3 separate regions of the Homo sapiens genome follow, and all the other regions are linked to region 2. Evidence: promoter capture Hi-C in human tissues and cell types (Jung and others, 2019). All regions are on one chromosome and are shown on one strand. Each heading gives the region's core, a stretch centred on a gene start or on the middle of the fragment in contact. The rest is flanking DNA. Distances are from core to core; before and after follow the strand shown. Region 1 has its middle 69 kb from the start of PRTG. Region 2 holds the start of PYGO1 (pygopus family PHD finger 1). Region 3 has its middle 12 kb from the start of PRTG.

What was found. The method cuts DNA at HindIII sites, captures the fragments that hold promoters and counts their contacts. A contact is called where the count stands out against the background at its distance.
Region 1: a fragment that was not itself captured here is called in contact with the fragment with the promoter of PYGO1 in region 2 in 1 of the 25 tissues and cell types used here (mesenchymal stem cells).
Region 3: a fragment that was not itself captured here is called in contact with the fragment with the promoter of PYGO1 in region 2 in 1 of the 25 tissues and cell types used here (H1 embryonic stem cells).

The regions. Positions count from the first base shown.
Region 1 is chr15:55,810,242-55,813,276 of GRCh38, reverse strand. No RefSeq gene overlaps it. Among named protein-coding and RNA genes, the nearest start is that of PRTG, 69 kb to the right of the region's middle. The HindIII fragment of the contact is 4,736 bases long and covers 1-3,035 here.
Region 2 is chr15:55,586,785-55,589,621 of GRCh38, reverse strand. PYGO1 (pygopus family PHD finger 1) reads left to right here and starts at 1,277. Exons shown (of 3, transcript NM_001367806.1): 1 at 1,277-1,787. The coding sequence starts at 1,739. It overlaps LOC124903497 (a long non-coding RNA gene), which reads right to left and starts at 1,072. Exons shown (of 2, transcript XR_007064647.1): 1 at 803-1,072; 2 at 1-319. RefSeq lists silencers at 1,256-1,375, 1,456-1,505. The HindIII fragment of the contact is 20,429 bases long and covers 1-2,837 here.
Region 3 is chr15:55,753,512-55,756,747 of GRCh38, reverse strand. No RefSeq gene overlaps it. Among named protein-coding and RNA genes, the nearest start is that of PRTG, 12 kb to the right of the region's middle. The HindIII fragment of the contact is 3,348 bases long and covers 1-3,217 here.

The DNA.
Region 1 (3,035 bases), core at 392-2,891, 220 kb before region 2:
GACCTCCTGGACCCAAGCAATCCTCCTACCTCAGCTTCCCAAGTAGCTGGGACCACAGGCATGTGCCACCACGCCTGGCTAATATTTTTCTTTTTCTTTTTTGTAGAGATGGGGTCTCCTTGTGTCACCCAGGCTGGTCTCGAACTCCTGGGCTCAAACGATCCACCTGCCTCACGCTCTCAAAGTGCTGGGATTACAGATATAAGCCACTGCACCCAAAAATTATCTTGTTTTCATCTTTCTTAAATATAAGTGTAACTCACATTTATTTCAATGTTTAATATTAGAAGTGTTTGAGAGGCCGGGCATGGTGGCTCATGCCTGTAATCCCAGCATTTTGGGAGGCTGAGGCGGGCCGATCACCTGAGGTCAGGAGTTCGAGACCAGCCTGGCCAACATGGTGAAACCCCGTCTCTACTAAAAATACAAAAAATTAGCCGAGCGAGGTGGCGGGCGCCTGTAGTCCCAGCTACTACTCGGGAGGCTGAGGCAGGAGAATGGCGTGAACCCCCGGGGGCGGAGCCTGCAGTGAGCCGAGATCGCGCCACTGCACTCCAACCTGGGTGGACAGAGTGTGACTCTGTCTCAAAAAAAAAAAAAAAAGAAGTGTTTGGGTTTTTGTTGTTGTTGTTGTTGTTGTTGTTTTGAGACAGAGTTTCACTTTTGTTGCCCAGGCTGGGGTACAATGTCACAATCTTGGCTCACCGCAACCTCCGCCTCTCAGGTTAAAGCGATTCTTCTGCCTCAGCTTCCCAAGTAGCTGGGATTACAGGCATGCGCCACCACGCCCCGCTTTTGTATATTTAGTAGAGACAGGATTTCTCCATGTTGGTCAGGCTGGTCTTGAACTCTCGACCTCAGGTGATCCACCCCACCTTGGCCTCCCAAAGTGCTGGGATTACAGGTGTGAGCCCCCACACCCAGCTTGTGTTTGGGATCTTCATTTAGAAGTTTGGTGATGTTTTTGTGATTTGAAATTTTGTGTAGAATTTTGCTTATTTATATCAATTAGCCTATAGTAAAACTGGTTTTGTTATACTTCATTGCACTTAAAGTTGAAGTTTCCAAGAGCCTATCAATGACCTTAAGTGAGAACTTACTGTATTTGTTTGTTCAGAAGAAATACAGGGAGGATAAGCCAGAAACTAAAGACAAAGCTTACTGTTACGGGTTGAACTGCATCCCTCCCAAAATGATATGTTGAAGTCCTAACTCCCAGTACCTCAGAATGTGACCTTATTTGGAAATGGAGTGATTGCCAATGTAATCAGTTAAAATAAGGTCATACTAGAGTAGGGTAGGCCCTGAATCCAATATGACTGGGGTTCATATAAGAAGACAGCCATATCACAGCACTTTGGGAGGCCAAGGTGGGTGCATCGCTTAAGCCCAGGAGTTTGAGACCAGCCTGGGCAGCATGGCAAAACCCCTTCTCTAAAAAAAAAAAAAAAAAAAAAAAAAAAATTCGCTGGGCGTGATGTGAAAACCTGTAGTAGTCCCAGCTCCTTGAGGGGATGAGTCAGGAAGATGGCTTAAGCCTGGGAAGTCAAGGCTATAGTGGCAATGGGCTATGATCATGCCACACCGCTCCACTCCAGCCTGGGCAACAGAGCAAGGCCCTGTCTCAAAAAAAAAAAAATCAACCAGGATTGGGGGGAATCCAAAGTAGCATAAAATAGTAAAAAAATTAATTAAATTGCAAATAACTTCACTGAAAGAAGTAAGGAAGAAAAGAAATAACTTAAATAACTTTGCAAAACAGTATTTTGATTGGATAATATAAGGCCAAAAACAAACTATATAAATACTGTACTCTAGTTAATAAGTAATTCTGAAATGACTATAGGTATATGCCAGTATAGAATAAATAAGTAAATATACTACAGATATTGAAAGCCACATTTCTCAAGGTTCCAGAAGGAAGTTACCAATAAGAAAAAGGGGAAAGCCTGGAAGGAGCTCTATGGTGTTGGATTAGATTTGCAGGAATAACGATGAACTTGTGGTTTGTAATATATATAAAGATACATACATACATACATACATATATACATATATACATACATCTATTATTCTCCAATAAAAGGAACCAGGTCTCTTTGGAAAAAATAGTTCAATCCAGGGCTGGGGCAGGAAAAATTAAAGATGAGCCTGGAACCTCTTGTGGTTACAGAAAGCAAGGAAGTACTCAAAAACTAATAAAGGAACATCAAAAGGACACAGGCACCAACCTGAAGGAGCTCCTGATAGAGAAGGCTGGAGCAAATTGAGCAAGAAAATAAATGACAGTATTAAGTTGTGACCCATAGAATAAAATAAATATGCATGAGTCCATACTGATATAAACAAATAATTGAATAAATAAATACATGAAATCCCAGGACTTTGAGAGGCTAAGGCAAGAGGATCCCTTGAGCCCAGGAATTCAATGCTTCAGTGAGGTAAGAAAGTGCCACTGCACTCTAGCCTGGGGAACAGAGCAAGACTCTGTTCCTGAAAAAAATTAAAAATTAAAAATACTATATATAGGGTAGACTACTCTTCCTTACAGAAGAATTCCAATTAATGTGAGAGGAACAACAAATTGAAAAGCATGATTAGGCAAACAAGACTCACTGATGGATGCTAAAGTGGCCAAAGGTGAGAAGAAAATAGGACATGAGCATATTCTCTATGCATCTCTCCAAAGATATTAATTGCCAAGGAAAAATAGTAACTTTATAGTGGAGAAACACTGTAGACACCATCTTAACCAATTGTCAAGGTTAACTTGAGCAATAATAAGCCATTTTGACATCATACACCTCCCGACCCTAATATGAGGCACTGAGAAGGCCACGGCATCATTTGTGGCCTTCTTGCCAAAAACTAATAATGAGAAAACATCAGAAAAACCCAAATTGTGACACAGTCTACAAAATAACTTACTCTTCAAAACTGTCAAAATCATGGAAGACCAGAAAAGACTGAGTAACTGTCCCAGATTGGAGCTGACATAAAGCTATGTGACTGCTAAATGAATTATGTGTTCCTGG
Region 2 (2,837 bases), core at 28-2,527:
CTAGTCTGACTCTTCTAATCAGGAATTCCATAATTCCAGACCACCCTTATTAGATAAAGGGTAACATTTGCCTCCGGCCACGCTATGTCTTAACGACGATCAGCCGCTGTGGCGATTGTCTGGTATGCAGCTGTTGAGGCTGTACATTGGCTTCATGTTAACATCTGTTCTCTGTGACACTGTGCAGCTGAATGAGTTGGGTGTCTGTCTCCGGAAGGACGAGACTCCTGTCTGTAGCTAGTTCTGTGTCCTCCCACGCTTCATGAGTGCTTTTCGGTGATTCTTACATCAAAATAAGCCCAGTGGATAACCAGAAAACCTAGCAAAACAAAAACAAAAACAAAAAACAAAAAACAAAAACCAGGGAAAACAATTTCGTAGAAGTGCGTTAAACAATGTCGGAGCTAGAAGAGACCTTCGAGATGTAGCCCCACTGCCTTTTATAGACAAGAAAACTGAGACCCAGAGAGGTTACCTAAGTCGCCTCCGGTCACACAGCCCAACTGAAGAATGTGGACCGGTGATCACATCTAATTTACAATCACACTGGGGGTGTTCCTCCTAAAATTTAACGTCTAAATGAGATCCAGCCGCGTCACCGCTTCTACCCACGCTCCCCCCTCCCCCGCCCACCGTCCTTTCTGGTATTTATTCTACGTCGCTCTTTCTTGAAGAGTCAAGTCGTTAAAATACCAAGTGGAGGCATTCTACAGACAGGTGTCCACACCACGGCCACGCGGACACGGAGTCGGGGAATCTGGATCCCCACATGCCCGCCGAGAACTCTCCAGCTCCCGCTTACAAAGTTTCCTCGCATGGTACGTTCATCTTTCCGATCCCTAGCTGCGAGGCCGAGACGCCTGCTGCTGTGGCCTCCGACGAAGTTCGGAGATGCCCTTTCCTTGCGAAAGCTGGGCCCGGTAGCGTCGGCCGCGGGGTCGGGCGTTCTCGGGCCTGGCGGTCGGCGAGGGAGCGCCGGGCGCGGGGCGGGGCGGCCCCTAGGCGCGCGCTGCCCACCCGGGCTGCAAGAGCCGCGGGCCCGCGAGCCCCGGCTTGGAGCAAGAGGCGCGCGCGGGCCGTGGGGGCTGGGCCGAGGCGGAGCGCGAGGCGGCGGCGGTGGCGGGAGGCGCCGCGGGACGAGGCAGCGGCCCCCGCCCCCCGAAGCCCGTCCCCGCGCGGGGCTGGGGAGCTCAGGGCGGGGAAGCCGCGGGGCCGCGCCACGTCCCTCGCCCGCCCCAGAGCGGGTTTTACAGGCGGCTCCAGTCTGGGGGCTTTTGTGTCTGCGACTCGGGAGCGGCGAGAGAGCAGACCTCCTCCTCAGAGGGCGCTGTGAGTGTGCCGCCAGGGCCGGGCCGCGAGCCTCCTGCTTCCCCTGTCAGCGGCTCCTGAGGCGGCGGCGAAGAAGAAGGAGTGGGAGGAGGCGGCGGCGGCGGCGGCGCACTCGCCCTCAGCACATGCCGGCCCCGGGTGGGGGGCCGCCCCCAGGCCGCGCTCCCGGCCACCGCCGCTGAGCCCCGCCGGTGCCCGCACGCCGCCCCGCCGCCCCGCCGCCCCGAGGCCTCGTCCTCCTCCCAAACTTTGCAAAGTCGGCCCGCGTCCCCACCGCCCTCGGCCGTGCCTCGGCTCCGAGGCTTGCCTCGCAGCCGCAGCGGCCCCGCGAGGAGGAGGAGCCGCCGCCGCAGCATCAAAGAGACCGAATTCCCGCGGCCTGGGGGGGAGTCATGCTTTGCGGTCTGTAATGTCAGCAGAACAGGAGAAGGATCCCATTTCGCTGAAGAGAGTTCGAGGTAACCGAGAAGGGTGCCGGATTGGGGGAACCGGGGTGAGTGAGGTGCGCGGGGCCCCGTGCCCGGCCGCCGGGAGGCCATGGGGCTCTGTCCGGGCCTAAGTCCGCGCAGCCCGCGTCCCGCCGGCACCCCGGGGCCGAGGCTGCGATCCGAGCGCGCGGCCCGGGCGCCCGCTGGCCCCCGAGACATCCGCGCGGATCCCTCGCCTCCCGACTTTGTGTTCGGAGGCAGTTGGAGCCGCAAGCAGCATCCTTTCTTACCCCCTCCTCACCCACCTCTCCTCGTTCTCAAGACAGCACAATAGGCACCTCAAAGGGTGAAAAACAGACACCCCCTGGCAGAGACCTCGAACGGTGCCCACCCCCTCAAAAAAAGTAAGTTGGAGTACACAAGAGTTGATGCTGTTGAAGAAGGGCTCCTGGGCTTTCACGTCTCTCCTGGCCCCCTTCTCGCCCCCCCACCCCGGCAAAGGCAACAAATATTCAGTTTATTTTCCGTAGGTTTAAGAGGAGAAGCTACAAATTCAGAAGGCATTTTCTCTGTTGGTTTATGGATAAGATATTATCTAAAATCAGTGTTATGCATGGTTGATTTTCTTCTTTCTTGCGCACTGGTTAGGAATTTTCCTTTCGTGTTACTATCATCTAAGAAAAATCAGAGGGAACCATGTGTCAAACAAAAGATACTGCATATAAGTTCACAAAAGTCAAATGCCACCCGGAAATTGGGGGATGCCTTTTAGCTCTTAATAAGGTTAAGACTGAAAGTTCTAGAGTTGGAGTAGTACTCACTGTTCATTAAGCAAATATTTATTGAACATCTACTATGTGCTAGACACTGTTCTTGTTACTGGGATACAGCAGTGAACAAAGCAGATAGACAATCTTCATCCAGTAGGAGTTCACCCTCTTGTGGGATAAACAAATGATAAACAGTAGATACAGAATGTCAAATCGTAGGTGGTATGGTGGACAACAAAACAGGAATAGAGGAGAGGAAATATGTGTGGGGATGGGAAGTATGGATTGTATGTAAGGTGATCATGAAAGG
Region 3 (3,236 bases), core at 294-2,793, 170 kb before region 2:
TACCATTCCATGTTAGTTGCCATTCAGTGATAAATGGGATTTGGTTGTTATAAACGGCAATATGATTACTCTGTCGACATCAAACCTAAAGGAAAACTTTTAAGAATTGAGCTTTAAAATTCAGATCTCCAGCTGGGCACGGTGGCTCATGCCTGTACTTTGGGAGGCCGAGGCGGGTGGATTACCTGAGGTCAGGAATTTGAGACCAGCATGGCCAACATGATGAAACCCCGTCTCAACCAAAAATACAAAAAATTAGCCGGGCATGGTGGCAGGTGCCTGTAGTCCCGGCTACTTGGGAGGCTGAGGCAGAACTGCTTGAACCCGGGAGGCAGAGGTTGCAGTGAGCCGAGATCTCGCCATTGCACTCCAGACTGGGTGACAGAGTGAGATTCTGTGTTTAAAAAAAAAAAAAAAGGGCTGGGTGTGGTGGCTTATGCCTGTAGTCCCAGCTCTTTGGGAGGCCCAGGCGGGTGGATCATGAGGTCAGGAGATCGACACCATCCTGGCTAACACGGTGAAAAACCCCGTCTCTACTGAAAAATACAAAAAATTAGCCAGGTGTGGTGGTAGGTGCCTGTAGTCCCAGCTACTTGGGAGGCTGAGGCAGGAGAATGGTATGAACCCGGGAGGCAGAGCTTGCAGTGAGCCAAGATCGTGCCACTGCACTCCAGCCTGGGCGACAGAGCGAAGACCCCATCTCAAAAAAAAAAAAAAAAAAAAAATCCTCTAATTTTTTAAACATACATAATCAAAAAGGATTAATTTTTGTTGGTACTTGTGATAACTCATGCTTACTAACCCCCCAAATATATAGGCATACATTATTATCTCAGAAAAATGAAAACATATCAAAATACTCAGTCTTTGTTCACAGTTCTTATGTTAACACTAAAAATGCTACAAAAGATAGCTGCTTTATCTTGTGAGTATTTAAAAATGAGTATTTATTGGTAGACAGTATTTTTTAAAACAAATATAGGGCAATTACCAACCTTTTAGTCATGTCTTTATTTTAACAAAAAATGTAAACTTACAGAATATCAGTTTTCTGAAAAATCCCAAAGCCTGAGTAATAGGATTATAATTTAACAGTTACATATGCCCCTACATTTATTACCTTTTCATTTGTCTTTTCTAACTCTCATAGTTGAGAGATCTAGCAAATACCTTGCACTGGTCTAAAAATCTTTGGAAATCTTATACAACCTTTAAAAAAGTCTATGTCTCTGATTATAATTATTATAACTGTTCTCCCCAAACCTCCTGCACATAGTATCCCTTACCAATGATAGCCATCAACCTACAAACTAGAGAAATACATATACATGTTTGTTAGCTGGAAGCATGTGTACTTAGTGTCAAGAATCTACAGGTTTCTAGGTTCCTCAATGGCGGTCAGTGTGGATACAGCCACCCAGCAGACAGTAAACAGCAACTACTAAATACCACTAATGCTATGGTTCACGGTAGATAGGAGCAGGAATAATAGTAGACCAATACAGAGTGACAAGCTTGAAATCTTCCAATGATATAAAACCCATTTTCAATGGGACATTAAATACTTAACAATTTGTAGAAGTCCTTGAGGAGCTGATCAGGAAAATGATTGGTTCATAAAATCGACCTCAGTAAAGTACGGGCTAGAAGTTGCCATGATATCTCTCTCCACGTGCATCATCACAATTTCCCATGGCAGAAAGTGGAGTGTGGTGTTCCTTGAAGCTTGGCACATGAGATGCTGGCCAGGTGAGTTGGGGGTGGGGAGGACACAGTTCAGAGGCTTCTAATTGTGAACTATCTTTCCTTTCCCTGCTGCCACATCACCCCACCACACATGTACCAACCATGGACTATAGACTATCAGTACCTCTCCACTCATCAGGAGACAAAGTGGAAAACAATTTACTCCTCCCCTCAAAAATGTGGGGACCCCCTCATCTGCTGTGTGCAAAGCACTTTGCTAGGTGCTATGTAAAGGTGTTGAGGCATGGTGCACTATTTGAGGACAGTCATAAAAGATTTATGAAAGTACTAAGTAAAAGCTTAGCATGGGTGTGTCTGGAAATGGAGTGCTGAAGTCCCTTTAAACCCCCGGAGTGCCTCTAATGAAGCATGAAGGTGTTGGGGCCAGTATCTTCGTCCACAGCATTTTCTCCCCTCACCACCACTTTTTTCTTCTCTCATCCGCCAAACAGAGCACAAGTAGGAACCTGCACCTCCTCAATGGACAGGAGATCTGCAGCAGGGTGGGTGGGCAGATGGAGACTTTCTTTTTTGTTTTTTGTTTTTGAGACAGAGTTTCACTTTTGTTGCCCAGGCTGAAGTGCAATGGCACCATCTCTGCTCACTGCAACCTCTGCCTCTTGGGTTCAAGCGATTCTCCTGCCTCAGCCTTCTGAGTAGCTGGGATTATAGGCGCCCACCATCATGCCCGGCTAATTTTTTGTATTTTTAGTAGAGATGGGGTTTCGCCATGTTGGCCAGGCTGGTCTCAAACTCCTGACCTCAAGTGATCCACCCGTCTCGGCCTCCCTAGTCCTGGGATTACAGGCGTGAGCCACAGCACCCAGCCCAGATGGAGACTTTTTAAAACCCACAGCTATTTTGATGTTGTTGTGATTTTTTTTCCCACAACTTTTACTTCTTTATTTATTTTTTTCCACCTCTTCTCATTATCACTCTTTTCTTCAGCCTCCTCAACTTTTTCACTTCCTAATCTTTTCCTTTCTTCTCCTTAAGTTATATAAAACAGCTGGAAATAGAGCTCTTACAGGAAGATAAGACCATTGCTGAAGAGGAGGGGATGATTCCCTTTTAGATCCTAGAAGTTATATTCAGGCACCCCATATTTTCATGCATGTGTGTATTTTGCTTGTCATTTGCATTGTGGTTGAATCCCTAAAATAAGATTTTAATTGATATTAAATCCTGTCTACTATGGACCTGTGAACCCTACACAAATAGGGGCCCAGGGATAAAGTCACTCTTGGTGTTGTTAAGGAAAGAATATACATGAAGCAATAAAGCATGGATCAGAGAAGCCCAAATTTGAATTCTCTCCATTATCACTTACTGGTTGTATGACCTTGGGAATTATTTATTTATTTATTTATTTATTTATTTATTTATTTATTTATTTTCTGAGACAGTCTTGCTCTGTTGCCCGGGCTGGAGTACAATGGCGCAATCTTGGCTCACTGCAACCTCCACCTCCCAGGTTCAAACGATTCTCA